Regions from separate parts of the Homo sapiens genome. Here regions 2 and 3 are each linked to region 1. Evidence: promoter capture Hi-C in 16 types of primary human blood cells and fetal thymus (Javierre and others, 2016). All regions are on one chromosome and are shown on one strand. The core of a region is centred on a gene start or on the middle of the fragment in contact, and the rest is flanking DNA. Distances in the headings are between cores, read along the strand shown.

Evidence for each region. The method cuts DNA at HindIII sites, captures the fragments that hold promoters and counts their contacts. A CHiCAGO score of 5 or more calls a contact.
Region 2: a fragment that was not itself captured here is called in contact with the fragment with the promoter of FLNB in region 1 in 4 of 17 cell types (naive CD4 T cells, erythroblasts, fetal thymus and 1 more); the score reaches 7.0 in naive CD4 T cells.
Region 3: a fragment that was not itself captured here is called in contact with the fragment with the promoter of FLNB in region 1 in 1 of 17 cell types (naive CD8 T cells); the score reaches 5.3 in naive CD8 T cells.

What each region holds. Positions count from the first base shown.
Region 1 is chr3:58,006,560-58,010,647 of GRCh38, reverse strand. It overlaps FLNB (filamin B), which reads right to left and starts at 2,226. Exons shown (of 46, transcript NM_001457.4): 1 at 1,792-2,226. The coding sequence starts at 2,083. The HindIII fragment of the contact is 11,042 bases long and covers 1-4,088 here.
Region 2 is chr3:58,229,845-58,233,932 of GRCh38, reverse strand. No RefSeq gene overlaps it. Among named protein-coding and RNA genes, the nearest start is that of ABHD6, 5.9 kb to the left of the region's middle. The HindIII fragment of the contact is 2,595 bases long and covers 508-3,102 here.
Region 3 is chr3:58,208,135-58,212,222 of GRCh38, reverse strand. It overlaps DNASE1L3 (deoxyribonuclease 1L3), which reads left to right and starts at 1,251. Exons shown (of 8, transcript NM_004944.4): 1 at 1,251-1,457; 2 at 3,917-4,005. The coding sequence starts at 1,317. The HindIII fragment of the contact is 7,867 bases long and covers 1-4,088 here.

The DNA.
Region 1 (4,088 bases), core at 977-3,476:
AAACAAAGAACAGATCCAAATTGAGCCCAGCTGGGCCTTGGGATTCTTCAGAGGGGAGGCTGGTTTCTGAATGGTAAAGAATTCCAGGAGATTCTGAGGTTCTCCCTCCCCAGTACAGGAGATGGACCCCAGAAAGAAGACAACAGCGTGCCATGCAGATTCTTCTGCAGGGAAGCCACCCTTGGGGAGGGGGAGGGCTGCTGGAGATCAGCTGGGTGGTGCGGCTGCCATCTGGGCCCAGGAAGCAGGAAGCAGCCTTACCTGCCAGGACAGGTGTGGGGGAAGGGAAGGGTGAGGCCCTAAGGCCCAGGGGAGGCTCAGCCTAGAGGGAATCCCTTTTCCACTGGAGAAAGTCCTGGCAGCCACACCCATCTCCCTTTCTTCCTGTCACTAGGGTCACTATAGTGACCTGGTTTCCTCAGGAAGAGACCCAAATCACAGGCCAGGGCCAGTCCCTGGTTCTCCTTAGGAAGAGATCCAGACCCAGAACCCTCCTCTGCCCCAACCCACACCCACCCACCCACATACACACACACACATACACACACCCATACACACGTGTAGGTGGATACACATTCTCTGCATACATTCCGTGTACATGCAAACTCTTTGCATATGCACATGCTATACACACATGCTATGTGTGTACACACGTTCTCTGCACAAACGCCCACATGCACACACACATCACAGCCCCTACCATCACAGCCCACACTATCAGTAGCCTTGTGGCCCTCTGGGAAGCCTCCAACTATCTCAGACCACAAGGGAGACTTCATCCTTATTCTTCCTCCCCAGACCAGAAGGCCCAGTCCAGCAAGAGACACCAATTCCCTCCCTCCTTTCAGGAAGACCCTGGTGTAGGTTTGGGAGAGGAGAGGAAAACAAAGCCTCCTTCTAACTGTTGCCCACTTCCTTCAGTTCTCAGCTGGGCCCTACTTGCTGACCTTGGACAGGTCAATTAACCCTCCGGACCCCCTTATCTGTAAAATGGGTCTAGCCTCACCCCAGATGGCAGGATGCGTAGGGACGGAGATAACTTAGAAGGCTGACGGTACACAGTGGACGCTAGTTGGGCTCCCTACAAGACAGCAATTACTGTTACCACCACCATCTCTAAATTATAACTTCGGCAGCAAGGAGTGGGTTCAACCTGCGGCGCGCGGCCAGAGCTGAGCTGGGAGCAGAGAGAGCGAGGACACACACCCGCGCCTACCCTTGCAACCTCGGGGCCCACACCCATTCCAGCGACGGCAGGGGAAGGTACCAGGTCTCTGTCTCCACCTGGGCAGGGAGGCCCCAGGCGCAGAGAACGGTTCCTCCTCAGGTCTCACGGCCCGGCCTCCGAGCCAACGCCCATTCAGCTGCCTCTGAGAGCACCAACCTGGGCGCAGCAGGGAGAGCACTCCGCGGAGCATCTGACCCTAGGGCCCGCCCCCGGGGACAGCGAACGAGGGTTTCTAGTCCCCTAGCTCCCATAGGGGCGCCCCAGGTGTAGAGAAATGCAACAACTCCACCTCTCCTCCTGTGACCCCAGCCCAAACCCTCAACCCTTAGCCAGCCAAAGGTGCACTGCTGGGGCGGATGGCGGGGAGCGATCACAACAGGTCCCATCCCAGGGGAAGACACCGGGGAGGGGGTCTAGGCCCCCTATAACCCACCCCTGGGGACGACTCCCCCTTATCTCCGAGGTGGGGGCGCGCTGCGGGAAATCCTCGCCCTCCGCAGGGGTGCACGCGCGGGGGCGGGTCGGCACCACAGTGGGCGCCTGGGCCCGGCCAGAGAACTCACCGATGGACACGAGCTTGATGCTCTCACGGTCCAGGAACTCGAGCGCCACGGACACATTCTCGAGCTGCATCTGGCGAAAGGTGGGCCGCTGATGGTACTTGCGGTACATGCGCTTCTGGCTGAGCACCTCGAGCAGCGCGATGAGCCGCAGCCCGTCGCTCAGGTCGGTCTGCAGGTTGCCGATGCGTTTGTTCACGCACTTGAGGTGCTCGTTGCACCAGCGTGTGAACGTGTTCTGCTGGATCTTCTTCCAAGGCGCGTCCTCAGCTAGATCCTTCTCGGTTACCGGCATCCTGGTGGCGGGGAGAGCGCAATGCGCAACGAGCTGCCGGGGACTGGTGTTTGGAGGCCCAAGGGCCGAAGGAGCGAGAACCGAAGCGGAGCGGGAGCGGGGTTCGAACTTGCTGCTACCGGAGCCACGGCCGGTGCTGCTCTGCGGCCGCCCGCCCCTGGCCGCGCGAGGCGCCTGGCCCCGCGCCTGCGCGCTGAGCCGCCCCGCCCCCAAGCCCCGCCCCGTCCCGACCCTCCCGCGGGAGTTCCTGGGCCACGCTCGCCTCCTGCCGCCTGCCGCAGGCACTGCGCCCCACTGCGTCCTGGGACCCGCGCTCGAAGCCCACCACCCCAGCAGGATGTAGGGCTGCCTGAATCACCCGGTCAGCCCCGGGGTGGGGGGACCCGCGGGGGCTGGGAGCCGGACAGAATGGGTCGGGCCTCAGTGGGACTTGCGGGAGGGGCGCGCGGGGCGGAGGTCTTCATCCACATATAGATTGAATAAAATTCAGTAAGGGCTTTTATTGAGCTCCGCCTGTGTACCAGCCATTCTTCTCAGAGCCTGCTAACCAGTAGTAAATCAGACAAACGTATTGCACAACCTCAAGGAGTTCACACAGCCTAATGGAAGAGAAAAGTGTAATTCCACCATAACCAACAGCCCAGTAGTGGTGGTAAAAATGAACAATAAGGCTTGTTGCATGTCTTAGTTTCCAGTTACTGCTGTAACAAGTTACCAAAACTTAGTGTCTTTGAAAACACACACCCACAAATGTATTATCCTTCAGTTCTGTAGGTTCGATGGCCCACACAGGTCTTGCTGAGCTAAAAACAAAGTGTTGGCAGGATGCATTCCCTTCTGGAGGCTGTAGGGAAGAATCTGTTTCCTTGTGTTTTCTAACTTCCAGAAGCTGCCTGCGCGCCTGACTCCTGCCCCTTTTCTCTGTGAAAGCCTGCAATGGGCTGGGCACAATGGCTCACACCTGTAATCCCAGCACTTTGGGAGGCCAAGGTGGGTGGATCACCTGAGGTCAGGAGTTCGAGACCAGCCTGGCCAACATGGTAAAACCCCATCTCTACTTAAAATACAAAAATTAGCCAGGTGTGGTGGCGCGTACCTGTAATCCCAGCTACTGGGAAGGCTGAGATAGGAGAATCGCTTGAACCTGGGAGGCAGAGGTTACAGTGAGCTGAGATGGTGCCATTGCACTCCAGCCTGGGCGACAGAGCAAAACTCCGTCTCAAAAAAAAAAAAAAAAAAAAAAAAAACAGAAAAGCAAGCCTGCAATGTCAGGTGGAGTCTCTCAGACCTCAGACAGTCCTCTCTCCATAGGCACATCTTCCTTTTTTTTTTTTTTCCTGCGATGGAGTCTTACTCCGTTGCCCAGGCTAGAGTCCAGTGGTGCAATCTCGGCTCACTGCAACCTCCTCCTCCTGGGTTCAAGCAATTCTCTTGCCTCAACCTCCTGAGTGGCTGGGATTACAGGCACCCGCCACCACGCTCCGCTAATTTTTGTATTTTTAATAGAGACGGGCTTTCACCATGTTGGCCAGGCTGGTCTTGAACTCCTGACCTCAAGCGATCCACCAGCCTCTGCCTCCCAAAGTGATGGGATTACAGGCATGAGCCACCTTGCCCAGCCTTTTTTTTGTCTCACTCCGTCTCCCAAACTGGAGTGCTATGACTCAATCTCGGCTCCCTGCAGCTTCAACCTCCCCACACCTGGCCCTTTTAAGGACTCTTAAGATGACATTGGGCCAGCTGGTTAGTCCAACATGATCTCCCTATTTTAAAATCAGCCGATTAAGAACCCTAATCCTGTTTGCAACCTTAATTCCCCTTTGCCATTTAAGGGAATGTTCACAGGTCCTGAGAGTTAGGATGTGAACGTCTTTGGGGGCTATTACTCTGCCTACCACAGCATACATTGAGCACTTACTCTGTACTCATCCAGGTTCTGTGCTAGGTTCTGAGATATGGCAGAGTCTCAGGCCAGCCCTCTGTTGATAAAAGCCTGAATAATTAC
Region 2 (4,088 bases), core at 556-3,055, 220 kb before region 1:
AGTGAGGGCAAAAGAGAGTAAGAAAGGAGGTGCCACGCTCTTTTAAACAATCAGATCACATGTGAACTGCCAGACTGAGAACTCACTCATCACCAAGGGGATGATGCTAAGCCGTTCATGAGGCGTCTGCTCCTGTGATCCAGTCACCTGCCAGACTCTTAGTAACAACCAGCTCTTCTGGGAAATAATAGAATGAGAACTCACCCACCACCCCTACCTACCAAAGGGCATTAATCTATTCATGAGGGACCTGCCTTCATGACCCAAACACCCCCATTAGGCCCACCCCCATACTGGGAATCACGTTTCAACATGAGATTTGGAGGGGACAAGCATCCAAACCATATCACCAAGGTCACACAGCTAGTCAACGATACTGCCAGAATTCAAACAAAGTTTTGTATGTCTGAGCACAAAATCTATATTCTAACCATTCAGCCACCTGCTGCCATGACAAGTAATGGAATTAAATAAGAAGAATACAACAAAATCTCACCTTAAAAAGCTTGTACTGAGCATTTTATGAAGTAATAACTTTTTTAGGCTAAAAATATTTCTTTCCAAATGCCTTAAAATATTGCTTATTCATTTATTTGTGAATTAAATGTTTACAAGCATTTACTTATGCATAGGACCCAAGCTATGGTAGATACAATTTTACCCCTTCCTTTAAGGAGAACAGTCTAAATTATATACACCTGAAAAAAAGAACATCAGTGCAAGAGTTAAGTAATAAGAACATATCACAAGACAACAAGTCAACATATGTCAACACATGTCATATGTAGTATATAATCATAGAAAGGACTCACTAATCAGGAAGTTCTAAGACTGTAATTCCTACTATATTGATTCATTCACTGAAAATGCCAGTTGAGCATAGCACTAGGCCAGAGAGTGTCCTGGATGGGAAGGAAAGGGAGGACTTTGAGAGATCAGTGTCACTGCACCTGCAGCACTCTGATAAGCTCAGGCTTGCCAAGCACCTGAAAAGAAGTGGGAAGATGCTGTAGTTTGAATATGGTTTGTTGAACCTCACCAAATCTCATGTAGAAATTTGATCTCCATTGTTGGAAGTGGAGCCTAATGGAAGGTGCTTGGGGCATGGGGACAGATCCCTCATGAATAGATGAATGCCCTTTGACAGGATGGGGTAGTGAGTAAGCTATTATTTCCCGTGAGAGCTGGTTGGTATATAAAAAGAGCCTGGCAACTCCCTACTCTCTCTTGCTTCCTCTTCTACCGTGTGATCTCTACACTTGCATGCTCTGCTTCTATGTCCACTATGAGAGGAAGCATACTGAGGCCCTCATCACATGGCCAGTCTTGATCCTTCCAGCCAGCAGAATTATGAGCCAAATAAACCTACATTTCTTTCTTTCCCTCTTTCTTTCTTTTCTTTTTCTTTCTTTCTTTCTTTCTTTCTTTCTTTCTTTCTTTCTTTCTTTCTTTCTCTTTCTTTCTTTCTTTCTTTCTCTCTCTCTCTCTTTCTTTCTCTCTCTCTCTTTCTTTCCTTCTTTCTTTTTGACAGCATCTTGCTCTGTTGCCCAGGCTGGAGTGCAGTGGCACAATCTTGGCTCAATGCAACCTATGCCTCCTGGGTTCAAGCAATGCTCCTGTCTCAGCCTCCCGAGTAGCTGGGATTACAGGCACATGCCACCACACCCAGCTAATTTTTGTGTTTTTAGTAGAGACAGGGTTTTACCATGTTGGCCAGGCTGGTCTCGAACTTCTGACCGCAGGTGATCCTCCTGCCTCAGACTCCCAAAGTGTTGGGATTACAGACGTGAGCCACCGTGCCCAGCCTAACCTTATTTCTTAATAATTACTCAATCTCAGGTATTCCTTTATAGCAACATAAAATGGACTAAGACAGAAGGTGATGGAAATTTTCCAAAAGATTAACCTGGACCTTTAATAAGAGGTGAGGGATACTAACACCCAGAATGATTGGGACTCCACTGCTAAAGACAGGAAAAGGTTAATGTAAAACCAAATTAGGATAAAAATGATGAATGCAAAAGGAACGGAGCATATGGAATGTTAACAGATGGCAGAGGGAAAGCCAAACTACCGGTTTCCTATATTACATCATCTTGATCATGGAAAAAGATTTGATCAGGTGAAAATATCACAAAGAGGGAAACTGAGCTCAGGATAGGAAGAAAAGATGGAGAAAGAGCACACAAAAATTTAAATTAGTTCAAATTACCAGATCAAGAGAAATTACTGCCCAAGATACTAAAAGGATATTTAGATCTGATCTTAAGAAACATATTCAGTGATCTTTGATAAATTATGCTAGAAGATTTTAACGAGTGAGAGTCCCATTTCAAATAAAGGAGAAAGACTGATAAACAGATCTCGAGACCAAGAGGTATGGTGTTGATTTTTAGCAAAGTTCTGCACCTGATTATTAAACTAAAACAAAAGAGGTTAAGTACAAGAGCTCATTTGGGTTCCCTGTGAATGATCACACCAAAGGAATAATATTTCACAGTTACTAGCATAAATAGACCTGGAGACTGTTGCAGGAAATTGCATACAGAATCTTGACTGTAGTAGGCTTTGGACAAAGCATTTTATAATCTGTTTATGGAGAAGATGAAGTAATTTAGACTTCGAAATATCAGTTTGGTGAAGTCATAGAAGGTTAAACAACAGTGGCCCAATTTTGTTTAATCTGACAAAATGAGACTGAAAGCAATTTTTTTTCCTTCCTTCCTTCCTTCCTTCCTTCCTTCCTTCCTTCCTTCCTTCCTTCCTCTCTTTCTCTCTCTTTCTCTCTTTCTTTCATCTCATTATGTTGCCCAGGCTGGTCTTGAGCTGCTGGCCTCAAGCCATCCTCCTCCCTCAGCTTCCCAAAGTACTGGGATTACAGCCCTGAGCCACCATGTCCTGCCTGGAAGCAATTTTCTAATAAAATGCTGTAGTTCTCTCTCCTTGAAATTTTTTTTTAATTGAGATGAACACAAATTCAGACTTCTCATTAAATTTTAAATTAAACAAAGCTAGGAAGAAAATTGAGATTCAAAACTGCTTCAATAATTTGGAATACGCCAAAAACATTATGGTGAAATTTCACCATCCCACCTTTAAGCTTTTAAAATCCAAATTGGAGGCTGGACACAGTGGCTCATGCCTGTAATCCCAGCACTTTGGGAGGCTGAGGTGGGCGGATCATGAGGTCAGGATATCGAGACCATCCTGGCCAACATGGTAAAACCCTGTCTCTACTAAAAATACAAAAAATTAGCTAGACGTGGTGGCATGTGCCTAAAATCCCAGCTACTCTGGAGGCTGAGGTGGGAGAATCCCTTGAACCAGGGAGTCAGAGGTTGCAGTGAGCCAAGATCATGCCACTGCACTCCAGCCTGGCGACAGAGCAAGACTCCATCTCAAAAAAAAAAAAAAAAAATCCAAATCGTATCTCAGCATATGGTAGACCAGATGCAGCCTTCTCAACTCATCTCTATTCTGGATAAAACAGACTTTTTCATATGTTGGGCTGACATGTATCAAAATAAGAGTAGGGGGCAGTAAGCAACAAATAAATGTGAAATGCAGTGTTGTCCTGAGAACAAATGTGTATATCGTACCCATAAACAATATTGGGAGACTAAACTTGGCCAGCTGTAACTTTGAGGAGCTGAACCTGAAAGCTCCATGTTTAGCCGGGACCCTCAAATGAGCTATGGCAGTGCCAGATGCTGGTGTGACTTCACTACAAGCATGTTCAAAGAAGGATGTTCTCTGTAAACCACCCAAGATTCTCATAGATCATAATTCAACACATACGAGCTTATTGAAAGAAGCCAGACACAAAGAAGCAGATACTGTATGAGCTCACTCGATAAAGTTCAAAAACAGAACAACTACTCTAAGATGTTAAAAATTAGAAGTGGTTGCCTTTGGGGGGAAATGACTGGAAGGGGGCTTGAGGCAGATATCTGAGGTGCCAGTAATTATTCTATATCTTTATCTGGGGTGGTAGTTATGCAAGTGTATTCACTTGTGCAAATTTCTCAAACTATATACTTACGTGCAATTTTCTATATGTATGTTATGCTTAAATACAAATATATTCT
Region 3 (4,088 bases), core at 955-3,454, 200 kb before region 1:
GGTTTCACCATGTTGGCCAGGCTGGCCTTGAACTCCTGACCTCAAGTGATCCACCCACCTCAGCCTCCCAAAGTGCTGGGGCTACAGGAGTGAGCCACTGCGCCCGGCCCAGAGCCACCTTTACCAGAGATTCAACCAGGCCTGAGGTCTTAGGTTGCAGACAACAGGGAGATTCATTGCAGCACGAACTCAGGAAACCATTTCCTTCCATGTACTATTTGGGGTTATCTTATAGAATTCCTGGCATGCTTGGCCAGTATGCTGCCTGGATGTATGTTGGGGATATATGTATAATTTTCCCTGTGGCTGTGGCCACAGACCCATCACCACAAGAGGGGTTGGTCCACAGATCCCGATGCTGGCTTGGAGTTATTCTTATTCCCTACCCTTTTCACAGAATTGTCTTTGCCAAAGTCCATTAATATACCTTGATTGGATTTTGCTTTTTTTTTTAATTTTTTTTTGCTTTACAGATCTTCATAGTTTCCTGCCCATATCTCTAAAAGTCATTTTGCTTGAGTTGATATCCTACAGTTCTTACAAGACCTTTCTCTCCCAGGGTCACACAACTCTCGCCAATATTAAATTAATATCAGCTTCAATCACGGGTCTCTCCATGGGTTTCACGGGCTATTTGCTCGCAGAGTCCAGGGACATTTTCCTCATCCATTCCATCAGATCCCCAATTGCTTTCTCTGGCAACACACTCCTAGTATTTGTACGGTAAAGCTGCCTAAAAAAATTAAGTAATTCAAACTACTCTTGACCTTACTTTACACCACCAGGGCAATTAGAGTCACAGTCTGGGTGTGTCTGAGGACAGCAGGCCGCCAAATCCCAGTGATTTAGAGAAAACCGAGCAGAATTTCCCATGCCTCCTGCCTCATTGTCCCCCAGCAGAAGGTTCCGTCACCCCAGGTGCCCTCTAGGGTGGACCACTTCCGAGTTCATCCACTGTCAGGAAAAGGCACATGGCATGCAACCGCAAGACCGATGACTAGATGTCAGAGCTGGCTCCCGGTTGGGATATGAGTGACTTTGTGGAGGATGGCGCCTAAATGAGGCATGCCAATTTCTGCACCAGGGTGACGAACATAAGGGCTCCTTAAAGGCTAGCCCAATGTATCTGTATTTCCTTGGGGATTAAAACCCATGATCTTCAGTTCCTCAGAGAACTGAAAGTTGCAAGGAGAAATCCAGTAATTCCTGTTATCTGCAGGCTTTATAAGTCAGTGGAGCCTGCGGAAGTGGCCAGAATCCAGCACTCCAAGCACTGCTGTCTTCTCACAGAGTCTTGAAGCCAGAGCAGCGCCAGGATGTCACGGGAGCTGGCCCCACTGCTGCTTCTCCTCCTCTCCATCCACAGCGCCCTGGCCATGAGGATCTGCTCCTTCAACGTCAGGTCCTTTGGGGAAAGCAAGCAGGAAGACAAGAATGCCATGGATGTCATTGTGAAGGTGAGCCCCTTTCCTGGGAGGAGGATCCCAGACACCCCTCACACCCTCTCTCCTGTCTGCAGACTTTAAGAGACTCAAGGAACTTAAAGTTGGCCCTTAGGGGGAATGTAGAAGCTGGCTTGGAACAATAACCACTTCAACTCTCTGTACCTCCTGCCGTCATCTTAAAACAGGGGTGATAACAATGGTTCCCTCCAGGGTTGCTGGGGGGACTACAGGAGTTGGCAAATGGAAAGCTCTTAATGTAGTATCTGGCTCATTATACGTTCCAGATAAGGGTTAGCCATTATGATTTTTATTGCTATTTATTGAATGCCTGTATCAGGCACTATAAGCACATGGTTTCACTTCATAATCTTTATGAAGAGGGACTATTACTCCCCATGTAGAGGTGATGAACAAAGAAAGATGAAGTAACCTTATACAGCTACTCCTTTTCACCAGCAAAGCCCAGCTCCTTTCTCTCTCTTTCCTTTTCTTCTTTCTTTCTTTTCTTTCTTTCTCTCTTTCTTTCTTTCTTTTTCTTTCTTCCTTTTTCTTTCTTCCTTTTTCTTTCTTCTTTCTGTCTTTTCTTTCTTCTTCCTTTCTCTTTTTCTTTGTTTCTTTCTTCCTTTCCCTTCCTTACTTTTTTCCTTCCTTCCTTCTCTCTCCCATCCTCATCATCCCTCCCTCTCTTTGTCTTTCTTTCTTCTTCTCCTCCTTCCTTCCTCTCTCCCTCTCCTCTACTTCCCCACTCCTTCCACTTTCGCTTACGCTTTCCTTGGGTGATATACCCAATGTCCGGGGACACTGCTTGCTTTCTCTGGAGTCAATTGACTCCCTTTATCCTACAGGTTAATTAATTTTTGATGCTGGCAACTTAACCCTTTCCCAGGACTCTGGAAAGGTACTTATTACCTTAGGAAACCTGAGACACCATGGTGTGGTAGGGGGGCCAGGAGCCCTGGGTCCAGATTCCACCTACCAGACTTGTGAGCTTGGGAGGCCCTGCCCCTCCCTGAACCACCAGCTCCCCTAGTAAAATGGCGACCACATCCAAATACCACCTGTAGCACTGGCTGGTGAAGAGAACTCAGGGTGCCTGAGGCACCCAGCAGAGCCTGCAGCAAGGTGGGTATTCATGAGCCAGAGCCGCTGCTGTTGCTGTCACTGGGAAGGAGGATTGGAGTGAGGACTGGCAGGCTCTGTTCTTCCTTGGACGAGCCTCTCAGACCCAGGTGGCCCTGCCCTTTGGGAGGTAACCAAGGCCTTCTAGATGGTGTTGTTTAGCCAGGATAGCAATGCCAAGCCTGTGGGAGCCATGACAAGATTGTTCAATGGGAAACCCTGACATGCAAGGCAATGATTTTCCCCACTTCACACATGGCCCGTGGAGCCTGGGTAGCCACTGAGTTCCCATCTCCTTCCTCACTGATGAAACCCGGCTGTCTTTTTGTTCCTTGGTGAGTCCATCATGGGGGCTTGAACTCTGCATCTCCCCTGAGCAGCTGTGTCCTGCAGAGCATGTCCGAAGTCCTTGTCAAGGCTGCCTCACCCTCCCCATCCTACCAAGAGGCCATCCCCAAAACACTGCAAGAGCTACCCTACAGGGCACTCACAGTCACCCGAGAATGCCAGGCATTCAGAATAGGATTATCCCTAGCGCCCATTGACCAAGCACCTCCTATAGGTGCTAATTTTTGTATTTTTAGTAGAGGCGGGTTTCACCATGTTGGCCAGGCTGGTCTCGAACTCCTGACCTCAGGTGATCTGCCCATCTTGGCCTCCCAAAGTGCTGGTATTACAGGCGTAAGCCACCGTGCCCGGCTGGGACTGTATTTTAACAGTTCAACATGGTGGGCTTTGTAGTCACGCAGACCTAAGTTCAAATCCTGACTCTACCACCTATCCTGGCTGTATGACTTTAAGCTAGTCACTCAACCACTCTGAGCTTGGTTTCTGCCTATGTTTAATGGGCTAATAAGCATAGTTACCCCACAGGGTTGTTGTAAGGCTCGGAGTAGGTTTGCAGTAAATGTCAGCTTTTATAATTATTATCATTATAATTATACCTCTTTATTTCTAATCCAGTCTGTTATCTTTGCTTACTAAGGGCTTAATAAATATTTATTATTATTATTGTAATTATTCAAGCAAAGCCAAGAGGCAGGATATTGTGGGGAGGTCATGAGCAAGGGGCTCTGGGCTTGAATTACATAGGTTCAAATTCTGCCTCCGCCATTTTCTAGTAGGGTGATTGGGAGTGTAATTTACTCAACTTTCTCTGAGTCTCACGCTCCTCTTTAAAATGTACATAACAAAAGCACCTACCTACCTCAGGGAGTCCTTCATTTAGTTCAGAGAAGAAATTATTTTAATAAGCACTCAGTGCAATACTTAAAAACAGTAAGTGTCCAATAAAAGGTTTTATTTATCTGTGGTAAATGACCTCAAACCCCTGGGAATTCTCTTTCTTGCAGGTCATCAAACGCTGTGACATCATACTCGTGATGGAAATCAAGGACAGCAACAACAGGATCTGCCCCATACTGATGGAGAAGCTGAACAGGTAACATGGGGAAGGGTGGGCCCTCTAGGGCTCAAGGTCAAGTGCAAGGGCATCTGAAAACCCCTGGGAACTGAAAGTAATGT